4 separate regions of the Homo sapiens genome follow, and regions 1, 2 and 4 are each linked to region 3. Evidence: promoter capture Hi-C in 16 types of primary human blood cells and fetal thymus (Javierre and others, 2016). All regions are on one chromosome and are shown on one strand. Each heading gives the region's core, a stretch centred on a gene start or on the middle of the fragment in contact. The rest is flanking DNA. Distances are from core to core; before and after follow the strand shown. Region 1 has its middle 7.3 kb from the start of CYMP-AS1. Region 2 holds the start of LAMTOR5 (late endosomal/lysosomal adaptor, MAPK and MTOR activator 5). Region 3 holds the start of LINC01397 (long intergenic non-protein coding RNA 1397). Region 4 holds the start of LOC105378899 (a long non-coding RNA gene).

Region 1 (2,700 bases), core at 86-2,585, 410 kb after region 3:
TTCTCCTTCCCACCCCAGGAGAACTTAGGGACAGTGGCCAACCAATCAATAGAATTAACTAAGTGTCTCCTATGTGCAGGGCACAGTGGCAGCTTCTACACGAAGCACGCAGACTCAGGATATATGGTCCCTGCCCTCAAATCCCTCACTCACTGGACATCTCTCTGGTTAACCATTTCCTTCTCAACCTTTGCTCTCCGATAATCCCCCCTTTCTGATCTTTCTGGATCATCTGTAATACTGGAATTACATTTTGAGCTAGGGCTGGCTGGGTGAGGATGTGCATGCTGTGTGTGCCTGAGGGGCTTGGGAATAGCATTAGCTTTCCAGGTCAGCAAATTAGCCCATCATTCCGTAGTAGTGGAGGGGTGGAAGACAGCTAGGATCTGGTCCACTAGGCACTCCATGGAGTTTCAGAGCTGAGGCTGATGCTGGCTGGATAACATGCAGACCAAACTTGTCACCCCATTCTGGCTGGTGGAATTGTGCTTCCTTTTTAAGGACTTCTCATGGCCCTGGCCACCTTCTCTGTGCTGGTGGCCTTGGTATCCTCAAAGCCAAAGCTGAAGCTCCATTCCTGGGCACTAAGCCTCCACCACCTTTTGTCCTTGCCCTCTCCTCTGACCCCATCCATGAAACTCGAGAGCCCCTTTCTTTCCCAGGGCTCTGTTTAACACTGAGGCCAGAATAACTGTGTCCTGGTAGCTTTATTTTTAGGGCCTGTAAGAGGGAATAAGGAGCCTCTGGAGACAGGCCTCCCATGTGTCAGGGAGGGTCCTGGGCCCACAGGTGCCAGCCACACCTCCTGCAGCTTTGGAAGTCCAGTGCCAAATCTCAGCCACACCCCCATATCTGCTCCCTGGGGTGCACATTTCTCATCGAGAGCATAGCTCTTATGCAATGAGGTGGCTGTGGGCAAACTGGCTGTCCAGATGCCTAGGCTTAAGTCAGTGCCCTGGGACCTCCCGAGTTATGCTGGTGGCCAGTCTCTTGGCCTCAGCTCCTGAGTTAGGAAGGTAGGTGGCCTCAAGCTGAAGGGATGCTTTGGCTTGACTTCCACCACCTGGGCTCATGCCCCTTGTAGAGTGGATGATACGCAAAGAGTAGAGAATCTCCAAGTGCTTTCCTGAGTCCGCGCTTTTCCTGGGAGTCCCAGACGCAGACCAGTCAGGGTGAGAGTGGACTGGGAATCCAAGAATCTTCAGAAATTATTCTTCGGCTTGAAAGTCTGATGAATGAACTGATTACGGCTGGTGCAGAAAGTGCCCCGTGGACACTCTATCACTGGGTGGCAGCCTGGGTATGGATTTGGACTGGGCTTCAAAGATTTTATTTGGACCCAAGAGGGAGAAAAATGGCTTTCTGCATCCCACGGAGTGCTTCCTGGCAAAGGGCAGTGGGCACTTGTGCATATGTCTCCCAAGCCACCTTCTCTCCTTTGACCACTTAGATCTGGATCTTCCTTCTAGCCTTAAGCAGCGTCCTAAGAGTGGTGTCTTCTCTTCCTCTCTGTCATCCCCATGCTGCCCTGGTTCCCATTAGTCCTTACCTTCCCCAGGCCCTAAAAGTAGCTCTTTCCCAGGGCTGGAGTTGCCCCGGCCTTGGGAACACCCCAGCTTGGGGACTAGTGAGGCCCCAAGGGGTGCAGGTACTAGGTGGGACTTGATGTGTCTCTCCAACAGGAGCAGAGGGACACTGGAAAATCACTGGCCCCACTGGAGGTGCCTGAGCTAGGAAGATGAAAGAGGATGACACAGGGGACTGTCTTTTTTTCTCACACAGCTGGCAGCTCTGGCCTGGGGTCGGAGAGACAAATGTGTTGGGCGTGTGCCTTGTCAAATGAATTGTCTTTCTTTCTCTCTCATCAAATATTTACAGAGCATCCCTATCACCAGGTGCTGAAGCCACGATGGTGAGCAAAACATGCTCTTCATCCTCATAGAGCTTTATGGAGGTAAGAGTTATTGGGAGTTTGGTCTTGGTGAGATTTATTGGGAGGGACCATATTTTGGATTTGGATTTTCAATATTCTGTCCCATAGTTCCCTCAACTGATTGCAGTGTCCTAAAAAAAGCTGGTAATCCTGAAATCACACTGCATCAGTCAGACTGTTACTTACGCCAGCAAACATCACAAAAATCTTTTGTTAGGCCTCACGTCCCAGTTTTTAGTCCAGAAGGTGTGATTCCCATTCAGCCGGGGCTTCCAAGCCCCTGACGTAGAGCAGGGATTTGAATGGAAAAGAGAGAAGCAGCTGCGGCCCCGTGCCTGGAAAGCCCAAGTGTGCTCTCCTCCTGTTTGTGAAAGCCTCTCCTTCCCCAGGTCAGGGCAGGGCCTGTGACCCACTCCTCTGTCTACTGCTCCAGACAGGCCACCTGGACTTCACCAGTCTCCTAACAACCTACAAAGTCTCCCTGGATAACAGGATGTGACCTTTCTCATGTCAGCGAGGTTTGCTGGAGGATGTGAGAGCTGAAGCCAGAGGCAGTCCACAGCTGTGAGGTGATGGAAACTGGTAGGAAGGGGGATGTTATGGACTGAATTGTGTCTCCTCAAATTCACATGCTAAAGCCCCAACCCCGAAAGTGGCTGTGTTTAGAGATGGGGCTTTTGAAAAAGTAATTAAGGTTAACTGGGTCATATAGGTAGGCCCTCATCTGATGTGACTGGTGTCCTTAGAAGGAGAGGAAGAGATGCCAG
Region 2 (2,700 bases), core at 144-2,643, 330 kb after region 3:
GTATGAGAGATACTTACAACCCAGATTAAGTCCTTGTGAATCTGTGCACAGGACTCCAACAATGGAGGGATTCTTCATTCTAATTCCAGGAACACAAGAGAGTTGAAGTACATAATGGGAGAAAAAGGATTTAAATAAGTACAAACATACAGGTGTTCTATGTACCAGGCATTAAGTGCTTTAAATCAATATTTCTCAATCTTTTTTCATTGTCACACCCTAAGAAAAAAATTAAGTTCTAGGGCCGGGCGCGGTTGCTCACGCCTGTAATCCCAGCACTTTGGGAGGCCCAGGTGGGCGGATCACCTGAGGTCGGGAGTTCAAGACCAGCCTGACCAACATGGAGAAACCCCGTCTCTACTAAAAATACAAAATTAGCCAGGCGTGGTGGCGCATGACTGTAATCCCAGCTACTCGGGAGGCTGAGGCAAGAGAATCGCTTGAACCTGGGAGGCGGAGGTTGCAGTGAGCCGAGATCACGCCATTGCACTCCAGCCTGGAAGACGAGCGAAATTCCGTCTCAAAAAAAGAACACAAAAAATTTAAGTTCTAGTTAATTAATTGAAATAAACCAGTTTCTCTCTGATGAGAGAAAAAAATGTGCTAAGTACTGCTGAGTTCTGGAGGGCCACAAACACTGCGTGAAAAACATCTAGGATGTTTTCACTCTTGTTAAAAACGCATGTTTTAGTACTAACTCATTTAAAACAACTGTTGAAAAACTCAAGTTACCTCCTGGAGGGTAAGTGGAAGCTGAGGGACATCGGTGGGAGGCAGGTGTCTCTCTGTACCCTTTACACTTTTCCAGTTTTGAATTTTACATAGATACTGCTTGTTCGAAAAATTTAAAGAATGATTTTTATCTACTTAAGCACCAAGTAACTGATAGGTTACACACAGGAGATACGTGTTTGTTTACACTGCAGGGCTCGACACTGCACAACTGGCACAATCTTCCCAAAAGTCAACCCGTTTTCTAAAACTTCCGCAGAACCACCCTGACCGTAAAGACGATTTCAACAACGAGATAGGCAGTTTTGGCCCGTGGCCTGGGCCCGGGAGACTCGCTCAAGAGGGAATGTGCGGTGCCCGGCAGGATTTTAATTCCGGGTCACCCGCCCCGCCCTGCGGCCTTGGGTAGAGTTTAGCCCCCTCATCCCGTGTCCCGGGGGTCGCGCGACGTCCCCGAGACGCCCTGGCCGGTACTCGCAGCTCGCGCCTTTCGTTCCGCTCAAGTTCCTCCGCCGCGACCTCAGGACAGGCCGAAGAGGCGCGCACTACTCACGTGTCTTCCAAGTGCTGCTCCAAGGTCGCCTCCATCCCACCCACCGACCACTCCGGCTCAGAACCCAGCGGCACGGCACGTCCTTCTCCACCACAGGCCTCAGTCACTTGACGCGAGCGGGGCGTGGACCGTAACGGCGCCTCCAAAGGGACAAAATTGATCACGGTGCAACGTCCGCGTTCTTTACTGGAAAACATCACTGCGCTTCCGTCGCACAGAGCCTGACGAAGGCTTGGGCTCCCCGCGCGGTGACCGTCGAGGTGACCTGCACCTGGCTCCATGGCGGAACCGGCCGGCACGGATTATTCCCCTCTCGGGAGAGGTCTGCAGCCGGGCCTCAGTGCTTCAGTTCGTGGCCTGGCATTTTGTGTCAGTGTTTTTTAACCTTTGGACCCTAGTTCAACCGACTCCGAGACCTAGGGGACAGATCTTAAGTTTTACAATAACCCAGGGGTCAGACAGGGTCTGATCTAGCCTGTGGGGCAAGTACGGGGAAGACACGGGACCTCTTGGAGGGGGTCAGTAGGCTTGTAGGGGGAAAGACGCACACAGAGACTAAAGGACGAGATGGAGCAAGGTTCAACCCCCTAGCTGAGTGTTGGCAGTGTCGGGATTTTAACGAAGACATTGGTGCTTATTATGGTGAGGGGACTCAGGACAGTTTAGGGGAAGAGAGTGGCATTTGAGTCCTAACTCGTAAGGAAGACTGGGTAGGACTACTTGAAAATAACTTTTAAAAATTAATTATAAAGCTGGTAAAAATAGGAAAACATCTATGGCCCCACTGTCCAAAGACGACTTTTAACTTCTTGGAGAATATCCTTTCAGATAGTTGTCTTTGTAAATGTATACTTTTAATGTTTTTTCGTTTGCCTTTTTAAAATAAATTTTTTGGGGGACAGGGTCTTGCTCTGTTACCCAGGCTGTAGTGCAGTAGAACGATTATAGCTCATTGCAACCCGGACGTCCTGGGTTCAAGCTATCCTCACCTCTCAGCCTCTCGACTGGCTAGGACCACAGCCTCGAGCCATCATGTCTGGCTAATTTTTACGTTTTTTTGTAGAGATGGGGGTCTCGCTGTGTTGTCCAGGCTGGTCTTAAACTCCTTGCTTCAACAGATCCTCCCACTCCAGCCTCCCAAAATGTGATTACAGGCTGAGTCACCACGCCTAGCATGGTTTTTTTTGTTTTGTTTGTTTTGTAAGCAAAATTGACATACATACTGGAGGTACAATTCTGTAGCTGGCCTTCTTTACAGAGTTTAGAATAAATGTCTTTCCATGTCAAGTTTTCACTTACATCCTTTGTAGTAGTTGCAAAATATTCCATTTTATAGCTGTATCTTAATTGTGGATTAAGGTTGGAGTGCAGTGGCACTATCATGGCTTAGTCCAGCCTCAGCCTTCTAGGTTCAA
Region 3 (2,700 bases), core at 190-2,689:
TAGGATTAGGCCCAGCTACGCTTAGCATAAAAGAAAACCAGCATTAGCCACTGTTGGAGGATTCGGGCGCTGTAGTCAGCCAGCTGAAGGAGGAGTTCAAATTGGAATATCTTTCCTGAGAGGTCAGGAATCCCTCAGTGGGCAGGGTGACCAGTCTCTGTGGGCCAGCTGAAAGATTTATTCTGCATTGATGACAGGGGGTACAAGCTTGGGTGTAAAAACATCGGCCTCTCGTATTTGGCTGTAAACACTCTAGGGTGTGCAGGGGAAATATAGGAGTATGGGATAGAACAGAATGTTGGTTCTGGATGGGAGCTTAAACATCATCGAGTCCAAAGGTTCTTAAAGTATAGGCCTCAGGCCAGCAGCAGAAGCAACAGCTAGGAACTTGTTAGGAAGGCAAATTATGGCCGGGTGTGGTGGCTCACACCTGTAATCTCAGCACTTTGGGGGGCCGAGGTGGGTGGATCACTTGAGGTCAGGAGTTCATAGACCAGCCTGGGCAACATGACGGAACCCCGACTCTACTAAAAGTACAAAAATGAGCTGGGCACAGTGGCAGGCACCTGTAATCCCAGCTACTCAGGAAGCTGAGGCAGGAGAATCGCTTGAACCTAGGAGGTGGAGGTTGCAGTGAGCAGAGATCTTGTCACTGCACTCCAGCCTGGGTGACAGAGCGAGGCTCCATCTCAAAAAAAAAAAAAAAAGGCAAATTGTTGGGCCCTACCCCAGAGCTACTAAATCAGAAACTCTCGGGGTGGGGCCCAACAATCCTTGTTTTCACAAGTTGCTTCTAGGTGATCTTAATGTACTCTAAAATTTGAGAACCCCTGATCTAGTTTGCCATCTTCACTTAGAAATGAGGGAACAGAGGCCTAGAGAGGGAACTTTTGCCAAGAGCACACAGCTAGTTAGGATACAGCCACTCTCCCCCTCACCCATATGGTCTCAGCTATTTATTTTGCAAATAACTTGGGGGGATTTTAATACATTTTTTCTTAGAGGCAATTGTTGTGTGGTTTATATATTTTCCATTTGTTAATAAGCTACTTAGATCAGTAGTGTCGCTGGGACCCAAACTATGGAATTATTTTCCATTAAAGTTCAGGCTCTTGGAAGTGGACTTGGTAGCTACATGGTCCCTTTCCAGTCTGGCCCCAAGCTCAGGTGGACAAGTCACACTCCCCTGGCTGCTCCCCAAGACACTGGCACCATCTTCCCCTGTCTGTCCCCAGATGCCCTCCCTGTAATGACACCACCAGCACCATAGTCTTGCTCTGTGCAGATGTTTTGGTCAATAATCCCTCCCTTAATTTACCAGGCCAAGTGAGGGTGGATGTGGCAAGAATAGTTTCGCCCACTGGCCTTTGCTGCCTTCCTGGGAAGATCTGCCTCTTCTTCCGGCTCTCACAGTGGGCCCAGCATGTTTCCAATATTGCATCAGTCTTTTCCCCAACAGAGTAACGCTTTAATGGGGCAAATTTGTTCTCTGCACGGGAAACATGTGGGCCCTTGTCAGGTGCTGCATCAGAGTGAGTTGCCCTCCACCAGCTTCCTAGATCTGGCCGTGTGAGGAGGCAGAAGGAGCCCTCTGAGACTTTGGGGTGAGTAACTCTTCTAAAAGAGCAGAACCATAATAGACTGTGTTTACATCAGCTCCGATTCCTGGGAAATTCATACAAAAGTTGTGTTGTGGTCTGAATTTTCTAGCAAACAGAGAAGGAAGCAGTTTGTCCAGTGTCACTAGACCTTACTGAAGGATTTTACATGCAGTGGGAAGGAAGAAACCCACTCCCTTCATCCTCCAAAAACCGGGATGGAGATGGTTAGCAAGGGGGTGTGGGAGGCAGCCCAGGGTAGGACAGAGTGTCCAGTCCCTCTTGTCAGTGAGAGCCTTCCTTGACCCCAAACCTTAAGAAATCAAATCCCCACTCTCCTGGGAACTTGGTTTTCTCTTCCGGAGCCCAGATTCGTTCCTGAGCCCCGAAATGCTGAAGCCAGCATTCCTCACCTCCAGGGAGCTGTGACATCCTGGGATGGTTTGTTTGATTCACCAACATCCTCTCTGCTTCCCCTGACCAATCAGGGGTCTATAACTTGCAGTTAAATAATTAAAGTCAATTAAAGTTTATTTCATTTTGAGCATTTCCCAAAGCCCTAGAGTAAATTGGAGTCTCCCTGGAGTATTGCAAAGCCGGGTTTGGAAATCTCAGATGAAGAGAATGTTGGGCAATGGATGATGGAGAAAAAGGAGAAACAAAGAGAAAGAGGTGAGGGAAAGAGCTTTCAGTTTCACTGGGTCTCCGCTTGGGGAGGATCTGGCTGGTTTAATGGTGATTCGATGCAAAAACCGTTGATTCCATTCTGATGTACTCAAGAACAGAGATGGCTGGAGACAGAGACAAGGAGAGTCAGAAAGCGACAGAAAGTAAGTCTCTCCGGGCCTCTCCACCCAGCCAATGACAGTATCACTTCAGGAAGAGACACTCCCTGTTCCCCAACTTCGGTTCCCCCTCCGCCAAAACCGTATGATATTTTAGGGAAGCCCCTCTTTATTCATTAGAAATCGGCTGCTTTGAGTTTGGCCCCTAAAAACTTGCCTCCTGCCCCGGAAGATTTATTTTATTAAATGGTCCACACCTGAAAGTAATTGAGTCTCGGCGTGGGTGCGGGGACTGCGGAGGGAGGGTCCAGGCGCGG
Region 4 (2,700 bases), core at 141-2,640, 390 kb after region 3:
ATATAGAACATATATGTATGTTTTTCTTCCCCTGGATCTTTTAGGAAGCAAGTTGCAGACATAATACTCTTTTTTTTTTTGAGACGAAGTTTTGCTCTTGTTGTCCAGGCTGGAGTGCAATGGCGCGATCTCGGCTCACTGCAACCTCCACCTCCTGGGTTCAATCAATTCTCCTGCCTCAGCCTTCCAAGTAGCTGGGATTACAGGCACCCACCACCACGCCTGGCTAATTTTGTATTTTTAGTAGAGACCGGGTTTCACCATGTTGGCCAGGCTGGCCTTGAACTCCTGACCTCAAGTGATCCACCTGCCTCAGCCTCCTAAAGTGCTGGGATTACAGGCGTGAGCCACTGTGCCCGGCCTGACATAATACTCTTTACTTCAGTATTCCCCCCAAATCAAGGACATTTTCTTGTAAATATTAACATGAAAATTGGTACAAATATCGAAGTCAGGAAATTAATATCAGAACAATACTATCATCTGATGTAGACTATTTTGCCAATTGTCCTAATCATGCCCTTTACAGCAAAAGGAACATTGTTTTGGATTCTCTCTTGACACACAGGCAAGGGTGGGCTAGAGCCATGGCCAGCAGCCAGGAGGCTGGGTAGCCTCGGTCTTCCTCCCCGTGGTGGAGTCCAGTGGAGGCTCTACACCGCACCCTGGGCGAGAGAGAAAAGCCTGCCTGGTCCCGCCGGCGGCTGCCCAGGAGGAAAGTAGCCTTCATCCCCTGCTTTCCACTCGGCACCTTCTCTGCTTCCAGACATCTGCCCCCATCTCCACGGTGCCTGCTGGGCACTGTAGCAACAAAAATGCAAGTGTCAGCTCCGGCTTTGTGTTGTCACCATCCAGGGCCCTCATTCTAGAGTCATGCTACCTGAGTCTGAATCCTGGGCCTGCCCCTTACTGACTGTGTGATCTTGGGCAGGTTATTGAACTGATCTGTGCTTCGGTTCCCTTAAAATGAGACAGATAGTACCTCATTTACAGGATTGTGGTGGTGTGTGGCTGGGAAGAAGTGATTTTATACATGTAAAGGGCTTAGGATGCTGCCTGGTCAGTGGCCATGCTTGCCAACATTCATTGTTATGTGATCAAGCTTGATGCTTTGCTGAGGGGGCAGCTGGATCTCTCCTCACCACTTCCCAAATTAGCTTGAAATGTTAGTGGCAGGAGCATCATGAAACTGATGTCTAGTCCTCTAGTTGGGAGCATCAAAGAGGGTCCAGACTAGGGGGAGGAGGATCTCCCAGGGGTCATCTCATCTCTCACTCTGTATCTAAGTCAGCATCTCAGTGTTACCTTGATCAGTGCAGCACCTGTCAGCTGAGTTTCCCGGCTAGATCTGCCTAGGGATGTGCTAGATGCTCCCCAGGACTAGCCCCATTATATCCCTTCTAGCCAGCTGTTCTGAAATTTATACCTGGGGTTTGTTTTAATTAGGTATGGTAGGACATGCAGACATGGACATGATTGTCATGAAGGAAGAAGTTTATACTTACAGACCCCTAGACATAGGAGGCATGTAGGGCCACATTGGGAAGCACTGGGGTCAGTCAGGAGGTGGAGGTTGGGGGGGAGTTGTCTGGGGTGGTCAAGGGAAAGGAAATTGTGACATAGAGCCTTTATTGCATTATTACATGAAGGAATGGGTGACACAGGGTAGGTATTCTGAGTAAGCTTAGAATTGTATAGTTTGAGTAATTTCAGCGGACTCTGGGCTGGAGGAGTGGTATTTGACCCTGGGGTGGTTTAGGGCAGGGAGAAAATTGGCTTGCTTTTTGAGAGTTTGATAAAGGAGAGGGTTGGGGGTGTGGGCTGTGGGTGGGTTGGTTCGTATATCAAAGACAGGCTCACAGGGGAGTCTTTCGCCATGCCTAGGAATTAGCTAGTCCTGTGAGGGCAGTCTCTCAAGGATCAAGGCCCCAGATGCCAGAGCATCAAGAATATGGAAAATCAGAGAACATGATCAATATACCAGCTCATCCCTGGATGAAGCTCCCTGCCTTTCCTCATACAGGCGAGTGCTCTACTCTCCCTTCCCCAGTAGCACTGGTCCGTAAGCCAAGGAAAGGACTCATGCATTGAATTATACTTAGTTGCCTACACGTCTGTGTGTTCCACTGGACTACAAGCTCCCTGAGGGCAGGGAGAGGAGCTTACTCACCTCTACATGCTCAGTGCTTGGCACAAGGGCCAGGTGACCTCATTGGCAGAGGAGGAGGTGTTGCTGTGGTGGGCCACAGGCCACTGACTGTCCATATGTGGGTCACGTGGGCACTTACTCCCTGATTTCAGCCACTGGAGACCTCTTTTGGGAAGGAAGTCCCATGGCCTCATTTGCTTACTTCTGTATATAGCTGTTGAGTGAATGGGAGGATGAATTTAACATTTACTGAGTGCTTATTTTAGGTCAGGCATTGTTCTAGGTGTTTAGAGTTACAGAGAAAATTCAGACAAAATTCCTGCCCTAGAGTTCTTAGTCCAGAGGGAGGCTGATGTGTAAGCCATCACTGAGCAGTGAGATAAGCACTCTGAGAACATCCCAGACCGAGGAGCAAACTGCGCTGGTGGTGGAGTGGGTGGTTACTGCAGACAATGTGGGTGGGCTCAACAGAACCTGATTGTCTGCTTCCACTATACAGACAAAAAAGTGCAATCCTCAATTTTCCGGCCTACCTTGTAGCTGGGAGCTAT

Evidence for each region. Contacts are between HindIII fragments. The CHiCAGO score rates a contact against its expected background, and 5 or more counts as called.
Region 1: a contact is called between a fragment that was not itself captured here and the fragment with the promoter of LINC01397 in region 3, in 1 of 17 cell types (fetal thymus). The highest score is 5.9, in fetal thymus.
Region 2: a contact is called between the fragment with the promoter of LAMTOR5 here and the fragment with the promoter of LINC01397 in region 3, in 7 of 17 cell types (neutrophils, naive CD8 T cells, erythroblasts and 4 more). The highest score is 7.7, in neutrophils.
Region 4: a fragment that was not itself captured here is called in contact with the fragment with the promoter of LINC01397 in region 3 in 1 of 17 cell types (fetal thymus); the score reaches 5.6 in fetal thymus.

What each region holds. Positions count from the first base shown.
Region 1 is chr1:110,496,240-110,498,939 of GRCh38, forward strand. No RefSeq gene overlaps it. Among named protein-coding and RNA genes, the nearest start is that of CYMP-AS1, 7.3 kb to the left of the region's middle. The HindIII fragment of the contact is 5,167 bases long and covers 1-2,700 here.
Region 2 is chr1:110,406,301-110,409,000 of GRCh38, forward strand. It overlaps LAMTOR5 (late endosomal/lysosomal adaptor, MAPK and MTOR activator 5), which reads right to left and starts at 1,394. Exons shown (of 4, transcript NM_001382293.1): 1 at 1,286-1,394; 2 at 18-79. The coding sequence starts at 1,320. LAMTOR5-AS1 (LAMTOR5 and SLC16A4 antisense RNA 1) reads left to right here and starts at 1,509. Exons shown (of 3, transcript NR_102697.1): 1 at 1,509-1,654. RefSeq lists an enhancer at 1,336-1,565. The HindIII fragment of the contact is 8,453 bases long and covers 1-2,700 here.
Region 3 is chr1:110,081,249-110,083,948 of GRCh38, forward strand. LINC01397 (long intergenic non-protein coding RNA 1397) reads left to right here and starts at 1,440. Exons shown (of 4, transcript NR_126382.1): 1 at 1,440-1,604. The HindIII fragment of the contact is 6,914 bases long and covers 206-2,700 here.
Region 4 is chr1:110,472,060-110,474,759 of GRCh38, forward strand. LOC105378899 (a long non-coding RNA gene) reads right to left here and starts at 1,587. Exons shown (of 2, transcript XR_947699.2): 1 at 1,506-1,587; 2 at 483-801. It overlaps LOC105378898 (a long non-coding RNA gene), which reads left to right and starts at 1,698. Exons shown (of 2, transcript XR_001738181.1): 1 at 1,698-1,735; 2 at 1,885-2,023. The HindIII fragment of the contact is 581 bases long and covers 1,101-1,681 here.